Regions from separate parts of the Homo sapiens genome. Here regions 2, 3, 4, 5, 6 and 7 are each linked to region 1. Evidence: promoter capture Hi-C in 16 types of primary human blood cells and fetal thymus (Javierre and others, 2016). All regions are on one chromosome and are shown on one strand. Each heading gives the region's core, a stretch centred on a gene start or on the middle of the fragment in contact. The rest is flanking DNA. Distances are from core to core; before and after follow the strand shown.

Region 1 (3,391 bases), core at 441-2,940:
CAAATAGAACTAGGGTACCCAGTAAATTTCCTTCCTTCCTTCTTTCTCTCTCTCTCTCTTTTTTTTTTTTTTTTTTTTTGACGGAGTTTTGCTCTTGTTGCCCAGGCTGGAGCGCAGTGTCGCGATCTCGGCTCACCGCAATCTCCGCCTCCCGGGTTCAAGCTATTTTCCTGTCTCAGCCTCCCGAGTAGCTGGGATTATAGGCGCGCGCCACTACGCCCGGCTAATTTTTGTATTTTTAGTAGAGATTGGGTTTCTCCATGTTGGTCAGGCTGGTCTTGAACTCCCGACCTCAGTTGATCCGCCCGCCTCGGCCTCCCAAAGTGCTGGGATTACAGGCGTGAGCCACCGCGCCCGGCCAAGTGTCCCTCTTCTAGTCCAGCATCCGAACAGTAGATTTCAAACAAATACAAAGTTAAGTGGAATAGGCAACAAATGGAAGGGGTGTGAGACTTCAAAATGTCTCAGAGATAGGACCCAACCAAATCCTTGGCCTCGCCAAGCGCCCCCATCACTCTGGCAGAACAGCTCCAGAGACCAGCCCTGGCCAGCCCTGGGTCCCCATCTGTCCTCCCCTCCAAGCTGGTAGCTCCCGCGCCCTCTTGGTCTGTCCTTTAATCTCGCGCGGCGGGGACCGGCAGGATGGTGGTCTCCCCGCGGTTTTGCCTTTCAGGCTCTCAAGTAAAGAAAACCCTCGAAACTCCTGATCTCGAGCACAGCACAAGCTCCGAGCTGGCACCGGGCTGAGTCAAGATGGCAAGCCCCGGACTGAACATTCGAATGTCCCTCAGTCTTCCCCGCGCCCAAGCCCCGGTGCCTCTGCCCTAGCCGAGGCCTCTGCGGTCTTCCCGGGCGAGGAGCCGATTGGGGGCCGCCGGACGGCGGAGGACCCTGCTCCTGCTTCCCGAACTACAGATCCCAGGGTGCCTCTCGGACTCGCGCTCCCTCCCTCCCTTGCTCCCTCCCTTCGTCCGTCTCCTCCCCCGGCCCTTGTTGTTTTGGCTGGAAGCACTCCGGCGGAGTTTCAGAGAAAGTCTGGGCAGAAACCGGAGCCGGGCCTGAACGTGGGAAGGGGAGGAGGAGAGGGAGGAAGAAGGAGCCCGGCGGCCGGGAGAGGGAGGGAGGGATCGGGATCTGGGGCCGAGCCGCTCAGGACCTGCCGCGAGCCCCGGGGTGGGGGAGGCGGCGGGGGAGGAGCGCGAGGGGACGGGACAGCGGGATCCCTCCCAGGAGCCAAGCCGCCAAGCGCCTCGTTCCTCTGCTGCTCCCCGCCCTCTTCGGCGGCCGCGAGAGCGGACCCACCCTCCGGCTTGACCTGCGACCTCCCTGCGCCCGCCGCTCAGAAACGCCCCGCGCTTCGCTGCCAACCCTGCGGCTCCCTCTGTGACCCGGGACCAGCCCCGCGCCCGCTGCCCGTAGGCGGCTCGCGGCTTCCCCTTTCCTCGGCGTTCACCGAGCGCCGCGAAGTGACCCACCCTCCCCCGAGGAGAGGGAAGGAGGATCGCTCCGGGCGCATCGAAACCGAGGGCGGGTGGGCGGGCGAGCGGGCACCGCGCGGGGCATTGTGTGTGTGTGTGTGTGTGTGTGTGTGTGTGAGCAGCGCTGTGTCTGTTTCGGAAAGCGCTCTGGGGAGGTCTTGTCCCTAGGGGGCGGAGCGCAAAGGACAGAAGCTCCGGCACCGAGTCGGGGCAGAGTCCCGCTGAGTCCGAGCGCTGCTGAGGCAGCTGGCGAGACGGCACGTCTGGAGGCGAGGCGGGCGCACTGAAAGGAGGCCGGCGCGCCCGCGGCCCCGGCTCGCGTTCTGTTCAGGTTCGTGGGCCTGCAGAGGAGAGACTCGAACTCGTGGAACCCGCGCACCGTGGAGTCTGTCCGCCCAGTCCGTCCGGGGTGCGCGACCAGGAGAGCTAGGTTCTCGCCACTGCGCGCTCGGCAGGCGTCGGCTGTGTCGGGAGCGCGCCCGCCGCCCCTCAGCTGCCCGGCCCGGAGCCCGAGACGCGCGCACCATGAGCGGTGGTGAAGTGGTCTGCTCCGGATGGCTCCGCAAGTCCCCCCCGGAGAAAAAGTTGAAGCGTTATGTAAGTAGAGCTGCGGGCACCACTCCGCGGGCCTCGGCGTCCACACCCCTCCCCAGTCGGCTCGCCGGCGGCTGCAGCTGGCCGCGCGCGGGGCTGGTTCTTAAACGAATGCCGGTCTCTTTCCCCTTGGCCCCTACCCCTGGCGGGCTCGGGACAGGGTGCCTTGCACTCCCTCACGCCCAGGCATCCACTTGGCCGGACAACTTTCTTCCTCCAGGTTCCAGACAGCCTGCTTTGCGGGCCTGTTCGCCCCATAAAAGGACCTAGACGTCCAGCTAAACTCCTGCTGCATGCTTTTTTTCTTCCTTAGGAAGGATGGGGTGCGATGGAGAGAGGAGCCTTCTTCCTGCTTTATTCCTGCATCTGATTATTGGGCTGATGTGTGCTAAAGCTCCCGCACCGGGAAAACTGCCGAGGTTTTAGGGCTCACTAGCCCTTTCTTTGGTGGGCGCTCCCTCTCCTCCGCCCCTCGAGATGGGTTGCGGGAAGCGGGCTGTGGAGCTGAGGAGTTGGTAGTAGAGACAAGCATATCGAACGCGCGCAAAAGGGAAAGAAAGAAAAGTTATTACGCGCCCTGCCGTTTGCTTAGCAGGGTTCACATTTTCGCGGTTTTGAATTGAGGGACTTTGGAGTTTGGCCCGGGAGCCTTGGCGGTTTGCTGCGAGAGGAGGGCGCTGGGGGGGAGCCTAGTGGCTGGTGTTTGGGCGCCTTGGATGTGCTGTCAAACTCGGCAGGAGGGGACAGCTGAAGCCAGAAGGGATTTCAGTTGCGGTCCTTTCCCAGGGAACCAGAGTGGCTTTAATGGTGTTTGTGTAATTGATACAAGATGCTATGTGTTAAACCGTTTTAGCTGTTAGGAAAAATATTCCTTGAAAGTATCAACCTTGCTTTAGTGGAAACCTGTGTCCTCTTCAGAGGTCTGGGATCTTATTCTTCCTCCCCATTGGTTGTTTTGTTGCTGCTCCCTTGCAAAGGAAAGAAATGACACTTTTGTGCTGACATCTGGATCAAATATTTTTCTAGTAAAATGTGTTTGCAAAAGCAAAATTTATGCCCCCTTAAATATAATATAAATTTAATGCCTGTACGAAGGGAACCCGTTTGTCGTTGAGGAATATCTACACCCAGTATTAGAGCTCAGGTTAATCCTGTTAGTCACTGTTTGCTTGTATAGAACAGAGTGAAGTACACAGAGTGAAGTATTTAACTTCACTGACAACTCACCAGTGAATTTCTGATTTACTTTCTGCCAGAATTTATTATAGACAAGTAATTTTATTGAAAGACTCGATGCCACAAATCATAAGAAAGCTCTC
Region 2 (3,391 bases), core at 291-2,790, 220 kb after region 1:
TGGCCAGTGGAAGGTTGGTTCACCCCTCTTGAGGTGACATTAGGGTGGTCTGCAGACATCACTGGAGTGGACAAAGAGATGCCTGGGTGGTTGGGGAAAGGACAGATCATAGACAACAGTAGCCTCTTTCTAGAGCTCAGTTGCAATAAATACCACAGTTACTCATCAGACACATTGGCAGTTCTACTTATTCCCATGTTTCAAAACTAGAGAATTCTAGCAAGGACTAAGCACTGCTTCTGTAGACCATCGGTATTTCTCCATGGCTGTTTGAATTTTTGTCAAAGCTTCTGTGTCTCATGCACACTAGTGACTTTTGAGACAGAGTCTTGCTCTGTCACCCAGGTTGGAGTGCAGTGGTGCGATCTAGGCTCACTGCAACCTCTGCCACCCAGGTTCAAGCAATTCTCCTGGCTCAGCCTTCCGGATAGCTGGGACTACAGGCATGCACCACACCTGGCTAATTACTGTATTTTTAGTAGAGACAGGGTTTCACCATATTGGCCAGGCTGGTCTCGAACTCCTGGCCTCAAATGATCTGCCTGCCTCCGCCTCCCAAATGTTGAGATTACAGGTGTGAGCCACTGCATCTGGCCTGATGCAGATTGATAATTTCTTGAGTGAGGCAGTGCTGTTGCCTAGTAGCAAGGCTTAGCTGGGTGAGACATTACTAGCTGCCTTCAGAAGCGGATCTCTGCCCTGAAGTTTACCAGCCTGCTTTCCTTGATGCCCATGCTGGCTGGGTGTAGGGATCCTGAGTGGAGGGAAAAAGAAGAATAGATGATACAGATTTGCTGTGCAAAGGCGGAGTTCTTACTGGCTCTTCCTCACAAACAGGCTGGTGATTAGCTGACTTTCAGATTCCCTTCTGGGAGGTGGCAAGGGGCCATCTGGTCATCCTAGCTTTGCAAGGAGTAACTTTTTTTTTTTTCATTTTATATGCCCTTTAATCCCAGTAGATGGATAGGTTTGCTTTCTTAGTATGCTTTCCAGTTGTAGAAAGGTCTTTTCTCTGGGTATTGGCTTTCCCCCAGCCTCCTATTTTTTGCGCTCCCCCTCCTCCCCAGCCACCTCTTTCCCTGGGAGCCAACTTGATAAAAGTAATGGCACAAGTCTTGCAGAATACTCCTACCAATCTAAATGCTGCAGACGCCACAGTGCTTTTTTCTCACCCTTAATAGTCGTAAGATAAGTTAGAGGGAGCTCCTTCAAGAGTACGCTGAGTTTAGTTTCTTCACAGCAGGAACTAATCTTTAAAAAAAATTATCATTGGGCTCCTTATTGTAACTGGACAGTACTGGAACTGGGTGGGTGCTTGATAAGAGAATGAATAGTTTAGGTAGTTACAATGAAACCACAGGCACCTGTAGAGGTCTCCCCAGGCTCACCTTGACGCTCTGATTGGCGGCTGCAGACCCCATCCGCGAGATGGCAGTGTTAGGAACAAAGGTGAGCTGCCCACTGCAGGTCAAACGCTGCCGGCTACCAGCTGCAGCTGGGAGTGAAAGACTAGAATACAGAAAGGCGCAGGCAGTCACGTAGGACTAGGCCGGGTTTAACACCCGAACAGTGGTGCTAGAAGGTCAGAGTCTTCTACGTACATGTTGGAAACATCCTTGATTGTCTAGCACCAAGACTTTTAAACACAGGGGGACAAATCATCACTTTGGGTATTTGTAATTGTTCGTCAGTTCAAATCTCTTGGTTTTAAAAAAATACTTTCCCTCTGCGCGACTGGCGCGTCACGTCGCGCGCGACCAGTCCGCAGGGCTCCTCCCGCGCTGCTGATAGGCCCGCAGACGGCGGCCCAGCAGAGGAGCGGAAAGCATGGTCCGGGGGGCGGCGGACGCCTGGTAGGCGCTCGGGCCGTTGTTGTGGGGCTGCGCGCTGGCGCTGCAGGGCGGGATGCTGTACCCAAGAGAGAGGCCGTCGCGGGAGCGGAAGAAGCTGGACCGCCTCTGGAGCTTCCGCGCCGACTTCTTCGACAAACTGTGCCTTGGCTTCTAGGAGTAGTGGTATCGGCGTCTGCTGCGAGAGTCGGGCTCCACCATGGACATACCGGTTCCCTCCAGCTTCAACGACGTTGGCCAGGACTGGCGGCTGCGGCATTTTGTAGACCAGATGTGGTACGAACGGGAGGTGACCTTCCTGGAGCAATGGACCCAGGACCTGCACACAAGAGTGGTACTGAGGATTGTCAGTGCCCACTCCTATGCCATCGTGTGGGTGAATGGGGTCGACGCGCTAGAGCATGAGGGATCTACCTCCCCTTTGACACCGACATCAGTAGCCTGTTCCAGGTGGGGCCCCTGCCCTCCCGCCTCCGCATCACTATCACCATCGGCAACATGCTCATCTCCTCCACCCTGCCACCAGGGAGCATCCTCGACATGGCCGACACCTCCACGTGGGTACCATCCTGCTTCCACCGCAGACACCCACCTTCCTGTCCCACCCCGTGGGGCATTACATTAGGGTAATTACATTAGGTAAGTCACATATCAGTGACTTACAAATTTTGTAAGTAATTAAGAAATTTTCAATAAGTGTGGAGCTGAATATTTACATGAGCCCTTCAAAAACTGATAGTTAATGGAATAAATGAAAATAACAGGAGAGACTTTGTTGAAAGAAGACAAAATAGTCAAGGAAGTGATAGAGGATACAAAAGAAAGATGAAAACTTACATTCATTTAATGTCTAACCGTGTGCCAAAAGACAATATTATTATTTAGTTTTCATAACCACAACATTTGGTGGATATGATTGCTTCCATTATATAGGTTAGGAAAGTAAAGCTTAGGGGTTTGTGAACCCACTAGTTTAAAGTTGTGTAGCCAATAGGTGGTTGAGTGAGAATTCAAAACTGGAACAGATTTGCTTGATCCAGAATGGTATAACTTTATTGTCCATGCATTGTCTTCTACATTTTACTGCCTGTAAAGTGGGAGTCAGTTATGGGAGGAGACCCAGAATGTCACAGGTTTTGAAAGCTGCTGTGGAAAATTTGGAAGGAGGCATTGGATTTAATGACTGATACAGGTCAGTGCAGATTGACCTTGGAGAGAACAGTTTTCTTCAGTGGCATGGTAGTGTTCAAAACAGGATCTGATGGTAAAGAAAATGTAGAACCAGTGTGTGTAGACTCCTTGATGGAAAAGTTTATTTGTAAAATATCAGAGGAAAATTATAATATAGATTTGTCCATTCAAACCCCAAAGTCCAGATTCTTACTGCAATATTTGATGTAGCCAATATACAGCAGTTGAGTTCAATTTTGGCCCCTGTTTATGTGTATGCTAAAGAAAAATAACAATCCTAAGCCTATGCCACTTAAACAAGAGGATGTGATTATACTATGAAACACTTGTGACCATAGGAATATAGCAGT
Region 3 (3,391 bases), core at 636-3,135, 210 kb before region 1:
ATAACATAAACTGCTGATTAACATATATTTCGTGTGCATTATATAATTATATACATGATTAAGGTAAACTAGAGAAAGAAAATGCTATTAAGAAAGTCATAAGGAGGATAAAATATATTTACTATTCATTAAGTGGAAGTGGATCATCATAAAGGTCTTCAACCTCATCATCTTCCCGTTGAGTAGAAGGAAGAGGAGGAGGAAGGGGAGGGTTGGTCTTGCTGTCTCAGGGGTGGCAGAGGTGGAAGAAAATTCTCATAGAAGTGAACCCATGCAGTTCAAACTCATGTTGTTCATGGGTCAACTGTAATTGTAGCCAGGGAGTGGACTGTGATAGATGAAGTGTGGCTACTAATTTATTTTGGCTCCTCCCATCAAGAGGTAAAGTCTATTTCCCAACCCCTTAAATCTGAGCTGGCCTTCTGACTTTCTTTGACTTACAGAATGTGCTAAAAAGGATGAGAATGAAAGTCTAAAGTACCTTCACTTAGGGAGTGGCCTATTTCCCTATTTTCTCATCCACTAAGCAAGAACTGTCAGATTAATCAGATTATCCCAAATTAATTACATTATCTTCTCCAACAAACAGAATAGGGAGAGGGATAAAAGCTTCCCTGCCAACCTGTCCCCCTAGGGAAGGGGTCTGCAAATATAGCCTTTGGGTCAAATCTTCCCAGCCTTCTGTTTTTGTATGGTTGTATGGGAAAATAACCATGTCCATTTGTTTACTTATTGTCTATGGCTGCTTTCATACTATAATGGCAGAGCTGAACATTTGTGACAAAGACCATATGGCCCACAAAATGGAATATATTTACTATGTTGTTCTTTACAGAAAAGGTTTGCCAAACCCTGCTCTAGAAATACTGGCTTGGCAAAACTTTATGACCATATCCACAATAAAAAATAGTCTTCATAATGTGGTCCTCTTTACATAATCATATATATTTTATATAATATAATCTGAAACAAATGTTTCATGAAATAATACCTCTTACTACATGTGATGCACTCTGACACTTTCTCTTCTCTTTTATATCATTTTTAAAGCTGATCACAATTCACTAAATTGACTTCATAACCCACTAATGAATTGCAACCTCCACCTTCTCTGAGGCAAGCATATAGGGAGAATGGTTTTCTCTGAGCTACAGTACATAAGAAATGCTGAAAAGATGATAGCAGCTGTTTGTTTTTTAATTAACTTTCTAGTAAAATATACTACTGCAGTAGGACAGAAAACATATATTTAGATTTTCCTGTGCTCAGTATTCATTTATTCAACAAAATTTCAACAATTATTTACATAATACCTATATTTCAAGTCTTTGCTAGGTTCTGTGGGTATAAAGGTGAAGAAAACAAACATGGAGATTAGACTTTAGTGGGGAAAACAAATTTGAAACAAATACAAAAACATGTAAGTACCAACTGTGATATGAAAAAAAGGTACTGAGTCCCATACATTTATAATGTGAGACGTGGATAGAAACTTACCTAGTTTAGGGCAGGATGAGGCTTTGTCTAGTTGGAATGGCTTCACTGGAGAAGTGAAAGTGGACCTGATAACTTCACAATTGAGAAGTTAACTAGGCAAACAAGGTGGGAAAGAGGAAGAGCAGAACCCAAAGAAAGGACTAGCCAAATCAATTTTAATAATTACACATCGAACATTATACAGCACCTACTATACTTCTCTAAGCACTTTATACATATTAATTCATGATTTGCCAGAAAGAGGCAGATATGAAACAAAAATTCATGCCCCAAAGCACGACTAAACCAAACAGTTGCAAGGCAGCCTTATAGAACAGGAAAAACATGGGCTTTAGTGTCAACTATACTTGTGTTTAAATTTCTACTTATCTGAGTGATCACAAGCAAATTGCCTAACTTTTCTGAGCCCCAGTTGCTTTACTACAAAATTAAATGTCATGAAAAATTAAATCAGTAATATATTGTACTATTGCCTGACATAAGTTAAAAATCAAATATTAGTTTTTTAATTCCAAATCTTCCCCTATAGACTCAAAACTCCTTGAAAGCATGTGGCTAAATCTAAGTTCATTATTAATTCAGAAAAAAAATTGTGGAGGGAAATTATACATATTGAACTGAAAAGACAAAAAATAATTCCTTCAAAACACTAAGGGAAAATTTTTTTCTACATTAATGCTGAAACCAATCTCTCTATTATATAAGAATGAGAGTAGAAAAGATATTTTATGACATGCAAGGTCTCAACAATTTACCTCCAATTCACCATTTTTTAGGTAGCTACTGGAGAACGTGCTCCACCAAATTAAGGGAATAAACTAAGAAAGAGGAAGACATGAAAAACAGGGCACAGAAGAATCCACACAGGGTAGAGTCACAGAGGATTCCCATATGATGGTGAAGGGAAGTCCCTGCAGGCCTAGAGACGCATCAATCCCAACTGCAGAACGGCACAGGCTCTGAGAGGGATGTCTTCATTAAAACCGACAAACTATCAATGTATTGACTACACTGAGAAGAATTCCAGGATTCTGTAGAAAACTTGGGGGGGATGAATTAGTAAAATGAATATAGAAAACAAAGCAAATTTTAAAATGAAGCAATTTTTAACTCCATGAAAAACAAAAATTGTACACAAAAGGAAATATAAACATGGCTTAGCTATGAACAATATTTACATATTTAAAACTATGTATACAATTACTATTCATTGAACCAAAAATTATGATTCAGGTGTATGGAAAGCATAGCGGGAAAGGCCATGTGTATTTCTATGGAGACAAGAGAGCTGTAGCCTCATCTTCCATATTAGGAAGTCAACAGGAAGTTTAAAATTTAAAAAGCAAGAAAGGGTAGTATATAGAAATATAGTAGAAATAACAGAAGAAACAAGCTAAAAAGAATTGAAAGTGGTTGGGAGAGGGTTGGGGATAGGGAGGATGGAGGACAGAACTGCTGCTTGTGTTTTAAGCCTTACAATAGTACATGTGCATTTGTGTGCAATAAATAAGAACTGAACTTTAAAATGATATTCAAATTGCATGTTCACAGAACCCCTGAAACACCTCTGAAGAGTCCAGGAAAAGTATTTTAAAACAATTTAAAGCTCAGTGGGAATTTCTTAGAATACTGGACACAGTACTGGATCACTCATCATAGATAACAAAGCTTAAGTGATTTTATATGAATGCTTTATTGGGGGCCACTTGAATTACACTTATGTTAACACTATAAGGTATCATTTTCCCATGTTACAGATTAGAAAACAATGTTAAATAACTCACTCAAGAGCACACTGCCAGTACAAAGATATGTGTGTGGTTTATATTCCCACACAGTACCAAAGAACACACCCAATTTTTCTTGAGTATGAAAAATACAATTCCAGGAGTCA
Region 4 (3,391 bases), core at 338-2,837, 200 kb after region 1:
GTCACTTCTTTGCCTGATAGCAGTGACAATTTGGGTTTGATTTAGATAGAAAAACATTTTGAATTTAAACCTAGGAAAAAAGACTTAAAATCTTTCCTCATCAGACTTAAAAATTATAATGTTGTATATTGTTTGGAGACATTATGTGTTTTATCTCAGTGTAACCTAGCAGAATTCATCTGATTCCTTACAGATGCAGTGTTATTACAAATTTTTAAAAGTTTTATATTTCAGAATATTTTAATTTTTTTTCTCAGTGTACCCATTTCAGTGTTATTTATGTGACTTTTAAACTAAATTCAAAATAACATGGTAATTTATTTAGGACCGAGCACATAGAATTGGGCAGACTAAGACAGTCAGAGTGTTCCGCTTTATAACTGATAACACTGTAGAAGAAAGAATAGTAGAACGTGCTGAGATGAAACTCAGACTGGATTCAATAGTCATTCAACAAGGTAAGCCATGGAACTTTAAAACTTTACCAAGTTGGATTGACACAACCTGTTTTTGTTTGAAAATCGTCTTAGAAGATTCTTGTTACTAAGCATCCATTGAGTCAAGCTTGCAGCCAGTAGAGATGACTTGTATTGCAAATACAGTAAACTTTAGTTTTGTCATTAAAAAGATGGATTTGGGCTCAGGACAGTTGAGGTTTGAATAATGAGTCTGCCAGTTAGCAGTTCTCTCTGGTTACATGAACCCATTTCCTCATCTGTTAAGTGGGGATAAAAATAACTACACTTAAGGATTTTAAAGGATTAAAGGGGATAATGTATATAAAATATCTGACATTCAGTGTGGTGGTTAATGATTTATATGTACTAACTACTCTTGATTACTGTGGGGAAAACTGAAGAAATAAAAATCAAAGAGCCTGATTTTATTCTTTTTTCTTGTCTGCAATTTACTGAGTACCCACCAGATGCTAGGCACCGTTCTTGGTGCTGAGAATTCAGTGGTAAATGGAACAAACAAGTATTCTTACTTTCAAAGAGTTTACAATTTAGTTGGGAGGGAGAGATGAAGTAAACAAGGGTATAAGTAGGAGTAGGGGGTGAGAGTGGGATTTTATTTTGGATCAATTGAAGGAAACTTAAGTTCTCATTCCAGATCAGCTTTTAAGGATGACATAATTTATGTTTTCATGAAGCCTACTATAAAGTTGATGATGGGAAATATAAAATTCAAGAAAAGGGGTGGGAAACTTAATAATTTCAAGTGTGCATTGGTTTCCTTTGTAACTGCATTTGTGAGCATGTATTTACTATCTGTCTATAAAGCTGAAAGGCATACTGTTACATTGTTTACTGATTATGTAGGTATCTTGATTTTGTCAGTCTCTGATGTCCATGTAAGAGAGTATTGTACATGTCTTTGGTATCCCTAATGCTATTCATAGTGTTAGCCATATGTCTGCATACCTGAAGACAATAAATTATTGCTTATTTTTACAAATCGTTTCCCTTAATAAAGTGTTTACTTTGTGCCAGGCAGTGTGCTATATACTTAACATTTCATTTTCTCCTTTAGTCTTCATGCCAACTTGAGATGTTAGCATCAGAGATAAAGGCTTTTGAGAGGTTAAATTACTTGTTCATTGTACATACAGCTGGGAAGTGACTCAAGGGGGATCAAGAACTTTGTTAACTCTTAAGTGTTTAATTAGAAAAGTCTCTGGGGACTTCTCGAGGCTGCCACCCCGTGATGTTATCTCATGGGTGATATAATGGCTAATGTTTTATTTTTCTTCACACATCCATGTGTTTTGAAATACACCTGCCGTGTGTTTCTTGTTCTCAGTTATTTTCATCCATGAAACACTTTTTTTTTTTTTGAGATGGAGTTTTGTTCTTGTTACTCAGGCTGGAGTGCAATGGCACGATCTCGGCTCACTGCAACCTCCGCTTCCTGGGTTCAAGCAATTCTGCTGCCTCAGCCTCCTGAGTAGCTGGATTTACAGATGCCCGCCACCACACCTGGCTAATTTTTTTGTATTTTTAGTAGAGACAGGGTTTCACTTTGTTGGCCAGGCTGGTCTTGAACTCCTGACCTCAGGCGATCCACCCACCTCAGCCTCCCAAAGTGCTGGATTACAGGTATGAGCCACCACGCCTGTCCAAAACACTTTTTTTAAAGATAAAAAAGACCTTAATTGATTCATAATTAATTTAGAAATCTTGAGGTTTTTTTACTTCATATTTACTGTGGCAATTTTTGGAGCAAACCTTCAGGCTAATAGCTTTCTTGTGCCGTTTGTAGACATGTTAGTCAAACAGCAAGCCTTAAGTGCATACCTTTGTGTTACTGTTTTTTATTTGAGGGACATAATTAAAAACGAGAGTACACAAGCACTTTACATCTGAAGGTTCCGGAACCTTCCTGCCCAACTTGGAAGTAGTTTGTATAAGCATAAGAACATTTTGGTAGCAATGGTAGCATCCAATCCAAGGAAACATACCTTGTGGATATCTCCTCACTTACAAAGTCATGGATGTTTGGCTGTATATCCTATTATGGGTCCCAAACCATGATACAAGTATTTAAAGAAGTTGTTGAAAACTTGGATCTTTTTCCACTTACTTACAAGTTGGTTGGCATATAAAAATCAAAGCTTTGTTTAGGTGTATGTGAGTGACCCTTGAGGAGGGTGAAAACAAGTCTTTCTGGGTTTTTGTTTGTTTTTTTATACCTGTATTTTTGAAAAATTACAAGGTTGTCCAAACTCCTGCCAACTGAAAATATTTATTAATTTATTAATGGTGAGTTTCTTCGATGATCCAGATACATTTTCTCACCAGGTGTGGTAGTGCATGCCTTTAGTCCTAGCTACTTGGGAAGCTGAGACAGGAGAATGGCTTGAGCAGGGAGTTGAAGGCTGCAGTGACTATGGTCCTGTCATTGCACTCCAGCCTAAGCAACAGAGCAAGACTCCATCTCAAAAAAATAAACGAATAAAATAAGTTTTTAGGAGTTTCAGTTCTTCTGGAAGTTTTCTTTAAAAAGAAACTGATGTTACATATTTCAGTTCTGTGTAAAGTTTGGCCTAGGTGAAGGATTTTTTACTTTACTTTTCTAAGGAGAAAAGCTGATTTGGGGAGTATTAGTTAATAACACCTTTCTGCTCATCAGAAACTTGTGTGTATAATGCTTCCATCTGTTGAAACTTGTAGGTTTTTGAAAATTTTTCATATGCAGCTTTCACAAAAGATTATATTTCGTTGGCACAGTATACAGCAGGTTTCATTATATAATACATAAGGTTTAGGAATGTTTTGTAGCTTACCAACTGAAAATTTGGCATTAAATTTAGTGCAAAAATCAAAATTATTAGATGTGAATAAACAGTAAACAGAAATGATTGACATTTGAGATAAAATTATAAAGCATT
Region 5 (3,391 bases), core at 618-3,117, 170 kb before region 1:
CAGAAGAAATGGAAATTGACATCACTATCCCATTTGTGAAGAACTTATATTTAATTTTATACATCTATACATAACTCGACTGTACATGAAAATACATGTTTGTTGTTTTTAAAAATCCTGATGTGAAGAATTTCTTTCCCTAAGCACTGTTAGAAAGAGATCCCAGAACTGAAAGGACCTATTCGAAGGGGCCATCTGCCATTGGCCCTTAGCATCCTGCACATTCTTTTATGATGTGCCAAGAATGCAAGGCCCTGACCACTTCTGGTCCAGAACATTTCTCAAGGTTGAGATTGTAGTAAGCAACTTTGAGTGATAAAGTAATGCCTCCACCCCAGAAAAAAGAGCAGTCTTGCTTATTATTCACTATAAAAGCTGCGGAACCCCAAGTTCAGTGTTGCTGTCTTGTAACACGACTTACTGCATGGCTTCCAGCTGGTCCTCTGTGTCGCCCACATGAGAATGAGAAACAAGGTGAACCAATACAAACATACTGATGCTCCTGCTTCTTACTGTAATAAGTAATAATGTACTTCCTCTCTGACCCAGGAAACACATGTCTTCCATCAGCATGGATGAAACAGTAACAGGCTAACTTTTTAGCTTGTGGGCATGGTAAAATAAAATCCCAGAACAGACAAACCCTGCCTGACTCTGTAATAAACATCCCACGGCCCACAATAAACAGCATGAGGTAAATAGCATAGCTCACATGATCTGTTTCTAACATTTAATAATTTTACTGATTTGTTTCAAAAAAATGCCTCCAACAATAACACAAATTGCATTAAAAATTTTCACCGAGGCTCACTAAGGCATGACTCCTGGGCTATCAGAGGCAAGTAAACATTATTTTTCATGCTATTTAAATGGTATAAGGTACGTGTCACTATATAAATTGTTGTTAAAATACGGTGAGCTCCTAAAGGGCAAATAGATAAGATGAATTCAAGTTTGAGGAAAGGAAGATGTCTGTCTGTTGAGGGAAAGCCAGAATGGTAGAGAGAGACTGTTGATACAAGGATATGACTGATGAAGCAACATATCACAGAAGGTGGGGAGGGATGGAAGGTAAAAAAGCATCAGGATTAAGAAAAGGAAGAAAAACATTATACAAAACCTTTTTTTTCTATTGAAGAGGAGACAAATTAAGAAAGTTGTTGTTAACAATCCTCAATCTTTCCAATGCAGTAAGAATGAAGGCTGTTATAAAGAAAGAGAGGCAGGTATGGCATGCTTAGGCACTGGGGAAATAGGAAATATTTAGAGATAAATATAAAACTTTGTTAACAGCACTGAGGGCACAGCTGAGATTGGATAGCATGAATTAACAGTGTAACCACTTAGTCTGGTTTAGACTTATTCTTAACAAAATTTGAAGAGTCTGGGAACTGAAGTAGGAGAGTTGAAATGTAGGGTTGACCCGTAATCTAACTATAAAAATCTAACCAAATTAGATAATGCCTGTGGCCTTTAACTACTGATTAGTTGAAACTCTGTTCTTTTTCTAAGGTCTTTTATTAATCTTATAATAATCTATAGGAAGTTAAAGCTACTGTGAGACATATCATTGGTAAGTATCAAAAAAACTTGGAGTAGAGCAAATGAATCACTTAAATAACTAAAATATGCATCTTCAGTAAGCCAAGCTTAATAATTTATCCTTGCGATCTATCACCTCCAGATGACTTGATCAATAGCATAATATGAAACCTAATTATGAGATATATTAAGACAGAAGAATTTTTTGACTAGACAAAAAAATAGTACTGCCATTGCCTATAAGTTCCACTAAAAGAGGACACACTTTCTTTAGCTTTGCAACAATGTACTTGTAGATTATATTCGAAGTTTCTATTACAAGTCTTTAAAACAAGTCTCATTATCTTTTTATCTCAAACAAACCAATAAACAAACAGAATCCAATTTTTAGCTTTTCCACCAATCCCACCACTCTCTTCTCTTGGGCCCCTTTGTAATAGAGAAATTCTGTAATTAGCACTAATAATTTCACAATTCAGTCACAAGGCCTTCACAAGGCAGACATTTTGCCAACAGGCATTTCACTCATGACTAATCTAAAACCAAGCTTGTCCTTGAATCTGCATTGAGGTTGCACGTTTGTTTCATTATAGCTTCAATTGTGAATTTAAAGCTTTTATTAAAGACTTTCATCAAGATTAAGTTTATTATGCCCTTTATGCCTGTTGATTCTAGTTGCCACAAAAAGTCAAAATCAACTCATCCTCAGGACTCTAATTCCCAAAAGGTTCTGAACATCCCCTTATTTAACTCCATTTCTTATCTCTGCCCAACTCCTGAAATCTTTCCACTATGCTAAGACTCAGACAGTCACCAGCAAAATCACCTCAACATTCACTTAATTTTTACTTGATCAACCCTGTAGCCCTCTTGTCTGCAGCTTACTCAAAAGGTAGATGTTCTTTCCCTCAAACTCTACTGCTATTGGGTCTAGAGATTAAGAAGGTGACATTCTTATTACTTGTTACTCCTTCCAGACTATTCCGCCTCCCTCCTTCATTTAGATTTTATTAAATCAAACTATAGCGCTATCAACCTTTCCCTGATGCAGTGCTCAAACAACCTCCAAGTCACTCTCCTTCTACCTCATATCCTCAAGATTGTAGCTCCTGACTCACTGATACTGTCACAAACCTTATTCCTGTCATAATTCTCGGCTGACTTCAATGTCCACATAAATTACCTTTCCAGTATATTGTCACACAGTTCTTTGACTTGATCTCCTTTAATGGTTTTGCCCTCCCCCCTCTTCCAGCCACTTACTCTCATGGTCATAACTAAATGTCATTCCCAATAACTACAGCCCCTCTATCATTTCAATTTAAAACATTCGGTTTTCTGAGCACCAACTCCTATCTTTCCAGCTCACTCCCTCTAGTTGGAATTTGGAGAATTCCAACAACCCTCTGACCTACCAGAACCTGTAATTCATTGATCCTAACATCTTTTTATTGTCCTTCGCCCCTTATATTATTTACTCACTTCATTTTTATTCAGCTTAAATTCCGTGGTCCATCATAATCCCTCCCTTGCATACAGCCTAACTTTCCTGCCCTTAGCTTGCTTCCTTGTACTTGGCTAAGACACCACCCTGGTTCTGTCCAACTCTCTACCTATTCCATGCTTACACCTGTACACCTGTACATGTGAACGCAGCTGGAGGAAAACAAAATGAACAAATTGACTGGTATCACTAACTTCAAACAGGCCCTTAATGCTGGCTAGGAATTATACTTATTTCCAGTGTTCTAAACAACTATTACATCACTTCACCTCTCTCTTAAAATCTCCATCTCTTCCTCTGTCAGTCTCATTCTCAACTGATGATCTTGCTTTTTATTATACTGAG
Region 6 (3,391 bases), core at 525-3,024, 170 kb after region 1:
GTGAATCTTTGGCAAACAAGACTAATTTAATATTTTTGTTTTAATAAAATCATCTATGTCTTATCTAATTTATCAATATTAAGTATAATAAAATCCTATAATAATTTTAGTTGGGAATGTTTTTCCTAAATTTATACTGATTTATTGATCAAATAAACTAGCATTACTTCCACTTTATGGTTAAAGATTATGAAAAATATAAATTTGTATTTGGCCAAATTGGTTCATTATTCTGATTTTCAACAAAAGTTTTATGTCAGTTTGAAGAGAATTTCAGTGATCTCTATTTTTCCTTTTCAGCACTGTGTTGAATATGAATGTTATAAGCAGAAAACCTTCCCTGTTTCAGATCTTAGAGGGAGAGGATTCAATCTCACTAAGTATAATGTTTGCTGTAGGTATTTTGCTGATGCTCTGTATTAAGAGGAGGAAGTTCCACTCTATTTGTTTTCTCTTTTTTTTTTTTTTTCTGAGAGTTTTGTTCTAAATGGGTGTTGGAATTTTGTCAAATGCTTTTTCCTCATCAGTCAATATAATCATGTGAGTTTTCTTCTCTAGCCTGTTGATATGGCAGACAACATTGACTAATACTCAAATATTGAATCAGTGTTGAATATCTGGAATAAATCACATTTGATCAGGGTGCATAATTCTTTTTACACATTGTTTAATTGTATCTGATAATATTTTGTTAAGGATTTGTCTGTATTCATCAGTGATACTGGTCTGTCATTTTCTTTCTTATGTAGTGTCTGTCTGATTTGGTATTAGAGATAAAGCACCTTCATAAAATGAATTACAAAGTGTATCATCCTCTTCTATTATCTGCAGGAGATAGTATGGAATTGGTATTAATTCATCTTTAAATATTTGGTAGAATTTTTCATTGAAACCATCTGTGCCTGAAGATTTCTTCTTTGGGAGTTTTTAATTTATCAATTTAATTTCCTAAATAGTTACAGTGCTATTCATATGATCTTTTTATACTGTTTAAGTGGCTTGAATTTTTCAAGGAAGTGGTTTTAAGTTGTCAAATTTATGTGTGTCGTACTCCTTACTACCCTTTTGATGTTTTCAAGGTCTACAATGATAGGTCCTGTTTTATTCCTGATATTAGTGATTTGAGCTTTGTTTCTTCCTTCCTTCTTACCCTCTCTTTTTTTCCTTTCTTCCTTTCTTGTCAGACTTCCTAGAGGTTTGCCAATTTTACGTATCTTTTCAAAGAACCAGTTTTTGCTTTTTATTTTCCGTATTTAATTTTATTGACTCCTGCTCTTACCTTTATTATTTCCTTCCTTTTGTTTACTTTGGATTTATCCTTGCTCTGCTTTTTTTAGTTTTTTGAGGTGAAAGCTTACATTTGAGACTATTCTCTTTTCTGAATGTAAGCATTTAGTGTATAATTTCCCTCTAAGCACTGTTTTAGCTGTGTTCCACAAATTTTAATATATTGTATTTTTATTCTGTTCAATGTACTTTTTGATTTCTCTTGAGACCTCTCTTTGACCCATGGATTATTTAGAAGCACGTCATTTAGTTTGAATATATCCCTGGTAACATTTTGTTACTGATTTCTGGTTTGACTCCATTGTGGTTAAAAAACATACTCTGTATGATTTCACATCTTTTAAATTTGTTAAGGTTTATGGTCTATCTTGCTATATTTTCTGTGGGTTCTTGAAAAGAATGTGTATAGTCCTACTTTTGTAGAAGAAAAAAATATGTGCAGTGTTGTATAAATGTCAATTAGATCCTATTGGCTGTTGTTAAGTTCTTCTATACCCTTGCTGGTTTTCTGCCTAGTTGTAGTATCAGTTGTTGAGAGATGCTGTAGTCTCCACATATAATTGTGGATTTGTTATTTCTAATTTCAGTTCTGTCACCTTTTGCTTCACATATTTTGCAGCTCTGTTGTTTGGTACATATACATTTAAAATTGCTATGTCTTCTGGGTTGACACTTTCATCATTATATAATGTCCCTCTTTGTCTCATAATTTTCTTTGCTCTGAAGTCTACTTTATCTGATAATGATATAGCCACTCCTGTTTTCTTTTTGCTATTGTTTTAATGATATATATTTTCCATCTTTTTACTTTCAATATTTTGAGCAAAAGACTGCCTAATTTCCTTTGTCTGAAGTTCCTTTTAATAAATGAGATAAAAACTAAATAAAAAAACTCTAATTTCTTAATTGAAGCTTTGTAGTTTATTATTTCAAAAATGTTTCAAAGATGGTGGTTAAAATTTAACTTTGGATCATAATATTTGAGTTCCTAGAAATACTTTACCTAGAACCAGCCCAACAAAAAAGAAATTATTTTTTCATGAGCAGGAAGAAATGCAGAGAAAACCTGAAAAACTTTGACTACATAAACATATGCATATATACCGAGCAGACACAAAGTCTCCCACTATTTAGTTGGTGACTAAATATGAGGGGAATGAAGGGAATATATCCTTACCTGTTTATTAACAGTACAGTTAATGTTTCTCTTTAACTGAAATCTCTGTACATTGACAAATGACCTATGTGGGAGAACTCTAAAAAAGATACATACAACATGTAATCATTGGTATCTGGTGTTGGAAATACCCATTCTTAGATACAAACTCAATACAGTTTTATTGTCTTGCAGTAATCAGACTTTATTTTCTTAAGCTTTGACAAAATGAGTTGCAATGAAGAGAGGTGTTGCATTTCTTCTTTGTCCTTGAGAAAACTTTAACTCCTTTCTGTTACCATTCAAGGACACAATGCTGAGAGAGCCCTGGCTCTTCGGCACATTTTTGTCCTCTGGCAACATCTCTTTGTTCCATTGTATTTCTGTACTGTACTTGCTGTTCTAGCACATTAAATCTAACAGAGGAAATTTTAGGTGTAAACTATGTATATACATATTGGAGATAGAACACTAACATTATTTTACACTGTAGCATTCTGTTGCTGGGAATACGACTAAAGCTCTAATCCTTTCTGGTGTTTTCTTGCTACCAAACCCCTTACCCTCCTCCTTCTTTGGTTCCTCTTCTTTCAACTAGACTCTAAACCTTAGGCTTATGATTCTCAAGGATAAGACTAACACTTGAACCCAGAACTCACTATATGTCAGGCACTGTATCATGTACCTTATACTGTCTCATTTAATTTTTATGACATCATAATATTATCTCAAAATAAAGCTAGGAAAATATAATAATAAAAAGATGAGAAAATTGATTTCAAAGAGGTTAGATAACTTGTCTGCATTCACACAGCTACTAAGTTCCAGAGCCTGCACTGGAATCTAGGCTTGCCTGCTCCCCAACCCACTCTTTTACCAACACATGAATTCTGTATTATGTGATCAATTCAACAACTAGCTGCTAGTTTTAGCCTTTTAGCAGGATTT
Region 7 (3,391 bases), core at 491-2,990, 160 kb before region 1:
TTCTTTTCCCTTGCTATTTATTAGGCCCCGCTCTGTCCAGATTTTTCCAAAAGTGTGTACCACCCCATAGGCACATTTAGAATCAGTATATATATTTCCTTCCTGGCCTTCAAGGAGCTTTAGGGCCTGGTCAAGAGCATGTAATTCACATTTTTGGGCCGACCAGCCATTAGGTAATCTACCTTTCTCACATAATGAGTGTTTATTTCCATCAAAGACAGCATAACCATTAAGTCCCTTGCCATCTATCACTCCGGATGACCCATCCACAAACAGTCTAATCCATCACGTAGTGGAGCTTCCCTAAGGTCTGGTCTAACTTTGGCTTGGTATTCTATGGTATCTAAGCAGTTATGATCTGATGTCTCTTTGTTCTGGTCTCCTTTCCATAGGACACTGGCTGGATTCAGGCAAGTATCTGGTGTTACAACCAAATAATCTTTTTCTAGTAATATGGCTTCATATTTTAGAATCTGAGAATCCACTAACCATCTCCCAGCTTTCTGATTTAATATATTCCTGACCTGGTGTGGGGTGTTTACTATTAGGGCCCCACCAAACATTAGCTTTCGACTCTCCTCTACCAGCAGGGCTGTCGCAGCTACTGCTTGCACACATTCAGATCACCCCTGAGAGACAGGATCGAGAAGCTTGGAGACAAAAGCAACAGGTTGCCTCTTCCCTCCCCAGGTTTGAGTGAGCACCCCAAGGGCCATGCCCCGGTCTACTGTTACAAACAGATAGAATGGTTTCTCTAAAGATGGGAGGGCCAGGACCAGGACTGTAATGAGGGCCTGCTTTAGCTCTTTCACTGCCTTAATTTCATCTAGGGACCATTACAAGGGATTGGGCTCCTCTTCTAGTAACTTGAGATACAGAATTTTGTCTTTTAAGCATATGAGTCAATCCATAACCTACTGTAGCCAGTTAAACCTAAAAATTTTTGGAGTTTTCTCTTTGTCTTAGGCAAAGGCAAACCCACTATTCCCAATATTCTGAGTTTATTATCCACTTCCCTTCACCAATCAGGTGTCCTAAATATTTAACTTCTTTTTCTACAAACTGCAATTTGTTCTTAGAGACTCGCAATCCCCTTTCTCAAAGAAAATAAGGCAAGATTATGGTGGTTTCTGATCACTCGGCCTTCCTTTTGCCAGATATTAAAAGTTCATCTACATATTGTAACAACTGGGTTCCCCTGGAAGGTTGGAATTCCTCCAGGACTAAGATTTGACCAAATAAGTTTGGGGCTTCTGTGAAACCCTGTAGCAGTACAGTCCAGTGGTACTGTTGTTTTCTCCCAGTTATAGAATTTTCTCATTTCTTTTTTGCCTATGAACATCCAGTTACTCCAGCACCATTTGTTGAAAACACCATCCTTCCTTCACTGAATGGCTTTTGAATCTCTGTCAAAAATCAGTTTGGTGTATTTGTGTGGGTCTAGGTTATTGTTGCCCATTTCACTGATCTATGTGTCTCTCTGCCATTACCATACTGTCTTAATTACCCTGGCATACAATGAGTATTATTTTTGGGTAGTGATATGGTTTGGCTCTGTCCCTACCCAAATCTTATCTTGAATTGCAATGCCCATAATCCCCACGTGTTGAAGGAAGAAACAGGTGGATATAATTGAATCATGGGGGCAGGTTCCCCCTTCCTGTTCTCGTGATATAAGTTCTCACGAGATCTGATGATTTTATAACAGGGTTCCCCCTTAGCTCAGCTCTCGTTCTTCTCCTTCCTGCTGCCATGTGAAAGGATATGTTTGCTTCCCCTTCCACCATGATTTTAAGTTTCCTGAGGCCTCCCCAGCCATGCTGAACTGTGTTTATAAACCTTTCCTTTATAAATTACCCAGTCTCAGATACGTCTTTATTAGCAGCATAAGAACAAACACAGGTAAAATGATCCCTCTCACTTAATTCCTCCTTTTCAGAATTGTTGAAGCTACTCTGATTTGTTTTTCCAAATACATTTTAGAATAATCTTGCCTGTATATGAAGAAGAAAAAAAAAACCTGCCTGGAGTTTTAATAGGAATTGTATTAAACCTGCATATCGATTTAGAGATCATTAACATCTACACTATGGTGAGTCCTCCAATCCATGTATATGGTCATTTATTTAGATCTTCGATTTCTTTCATCAGTGTTTTGTTGTTTTCAGCATGAGTCCTGTACATCCACTGTCAGATTTACACCTACATAGTTTTTATTTTGAGCAATTATCAATGGTATATTTTTAATTTTGGTTTCCATGTGTTCATTGCTAGTACATAAAAGTACAACTGATTTTTGTCTATTATCTTATATTCTGAAACCCTGCTGAGTTTGTTTTTTAGTTCTAGAAATTACTGTGTAGACTCCTTACGACTTTTTCTAAACCATGTTTTTCATTTCATTTTTTAAAAGTTCATTCATTCAAAAAATAGTTAGATTGAACTGGGCATGGTGGCTCACGTAATCCCAGCACCTTGGGATGCTGAGATGGGAGGATCATTTGTGTCAGGAGTTCAAGACCAGCCTGGCCAACATGGTGAAACCCCATCTCTACTAAAAATACAAAAATTAGCCAGGTGTGGTGGTGGGTGCCTATAATCCCAGCTACTCAGGAGGCTGAGGAAGAAGAATTGCTTGAACCCAGGAAGTGGAGATTGCAGTGAGCTGAGACTGCAGTGAGCTGAGATCACACCACTGCACTCCAGCCTGGGCAACAGAGTGAGAGACTTCATCTCACAGACAAAAAAAATTGATAGATTGTTTACCCTAGTGTTCTAACTGCTAGATATAGAAGTAACTAATAAAATTAAGGGGTTCTTTTTGACCTCATGAAGCTTAGATTCTAGAGAACAGAAAAAGGCTGTAAACATATAATAAATGAGAACAGTAGGAAAAGACACAAGAGCAACTTGATGGAGGGCCTTAAAGTCAACAGTAGCCATTTGAATTTTAAGAGGAGAAGCACTGGAAGATTTAAAATAGGGTAGTGAGGCTGCTCTGCCTATGAAGTAGCCAATGGTATATTTTTAATTTTTAATTGTCTTTTATTCCTTTACTTTCTTAATAAACTTGCTTTCACTTTGCACTGTGAAAAAAATTAAATGAAATAGTGTCGTAAGATTAGCTTGATGTCCATTTTAAGTCATTAAAACAAAAACCATATCAAAGTGGTTGGTGTGTTTCTTTACAGTCTTTTTTTCTTTACAACTTAAAAAACATATGAATATAAATTTCATAAAGTCAGGGATTATTTGTAATTACTTCATATGATGGTTTATTTATCACAGTCCTCTCTAATCTATACAATCAGTTTGCTTTTGATTCTATTAGGTGATATAAATTTCCTAAGAGAAAACTAACCTCACAATAATGTTATTGCAGTTGGCCAAC

What was found. The method cuts DNA at HindIII sites, captures the fragments that hold promoters and counts their contacts. A CHiCAGO score of 5 or more calls a contact.
Region 2: a fragment that was not itself captured here is called in contact with the fragment with the promoter of GAB1 in region 1 in 1 of 17 cell types (neutrophils); the score reaches 6.5 in neutrophils.
Region 3: a fragment that was not itself captured here is called in contact with the fragment with the promoter of GAB1 in region 1 in 1 of 17 cell types (neutrophils); the score reaches 6.1 in neutrophils.
Region 4: a contact is called between a fragment that was not itself captured here and the fragment with the promoter of GAB1 in region 1, in 1 of 17 cell types (neutrophils). The highest score is 8.3, in neutrophils.
Region 5: a contact is called between a fragment that was not itself captured here and the fragment with the promoter of GAB1 in region 1, in 1 of 17 cell types (neutrophils). The highest score is 5.7, in neutrophils.
Region 6: a fragment that was not itself captured here is called in contact with the fragment with the promoter of GAB1 in region 1 in 11 of 17 cell types (neutrophils, monocytes, naive B cells and 8 more); the score reaches 28.1 in neutrophils.
Region 7: a fragment that was not itself captured here is called in contact with the fragment with the promoter of GAB1 in region 1 in 1 of 17 cell types (neutrophils); the score reaches 5.6 in neutrophils.

Annotation. Positions count from the first base shown.
Region 1 is chr4:143,335,186-143,338,576 of GRCh38, forward strand. GAB1 (GRB2 associated binding protein 1) reads left to right here and starts at 1,691. Exons shown (of 10, transcript NM_002039.4): 1 at 1,691-2,075. The coding sequence starts at 2,004. It also overlaps the pseudogene LOC124900789. RefSeq lists enhancers at 498-707, 1,617-2,430 and silencers at 900-1,067, 1,008-1,307, 1,408-1,467, 1,538-1,587. The HindIII fragment of the contact is 8,165 bases long and covers 1-3,391 here.
Region 2 is chr4:143,557,660-143,561,050 of GRCh38, forward strand. It overlaps the pseudogene GUSBP5. Among named protein-coding and RNA genes, the nearest start is that of SMARCA5-AS1, 45 kb to the left of the region's middle. RefSeq lists enhancers at 1,555-1,714, 1,725-1,834, 1,965-2,064. The HindIII fragment of the contact is 2,511 bases long and covers 286-2,796 here.
Region 3 is chr4:143,127,196-143,130,586 of GRCh38, forward strand. The region is part of intron 1 of USP38-DT (USP38 divergent transcript); the gene reads right to left. Among named protein-coding and RNA genes, the nearest start is that of USP38-DT, 56 kb to the right of the region's middle. The HindIII fragment of the contact is 2,556 bases long and covers 608-3,163 here.
Region 4 is chr4:143,540,038-143,543,428 of GRCh38, forward strand. It overlaps SMARCA5 (SNF2 related chromatin remodeling ATPase 5), which reads left to right. Exons shown (of 24, transcript NM_003601.4): 14 at 326-458. Among named protein-coding and RNA genes, the nearest start is that of SMARCA5-AS1, 27 kb to the left of the region's middle. The HindIII fragment of the contact is 2,050 bases long and covers 563-2,612 here.
Region 5 is chr4:143,160,362-143,163,752 of GRCh38, forward strand. All of the region lies in intron 1 of USP38-DT (USP38 divergent transcript), which reads right to left. Among named protein-coding and RNA genes, the nearest start is that of USP38-DT, 23 kb to the right of the region's middle. The HindIII fragment of the contact is 440 bases long and covers 1,648-2,087 here.
Region 6 is chr4:143,507,078-143,510,468 of GRCh38, forward strand. No RefSeq gene overlaps it. Among named protein-coding and RNA genes, the nearest start is that of SMARCA5, 4.9 kb to the right of the region's middle. The HindIII fragment of the contact is 846 bases long and covers 1,352-2,197 here.
Region 7 is chr4:143,179,170-143,182,560 of GRCh38, forward strand. All of the region lies in intron 1 of USP38-DT (USP38 divergent transcript), which reads right to left. Among named protein-coding and RNA genes, the nearest start is that of USP38-DT, 4.0 kb to the right of the region's middle. The HindIII fragment of the contact is 2,185 bases long and covers 649-2,833 here.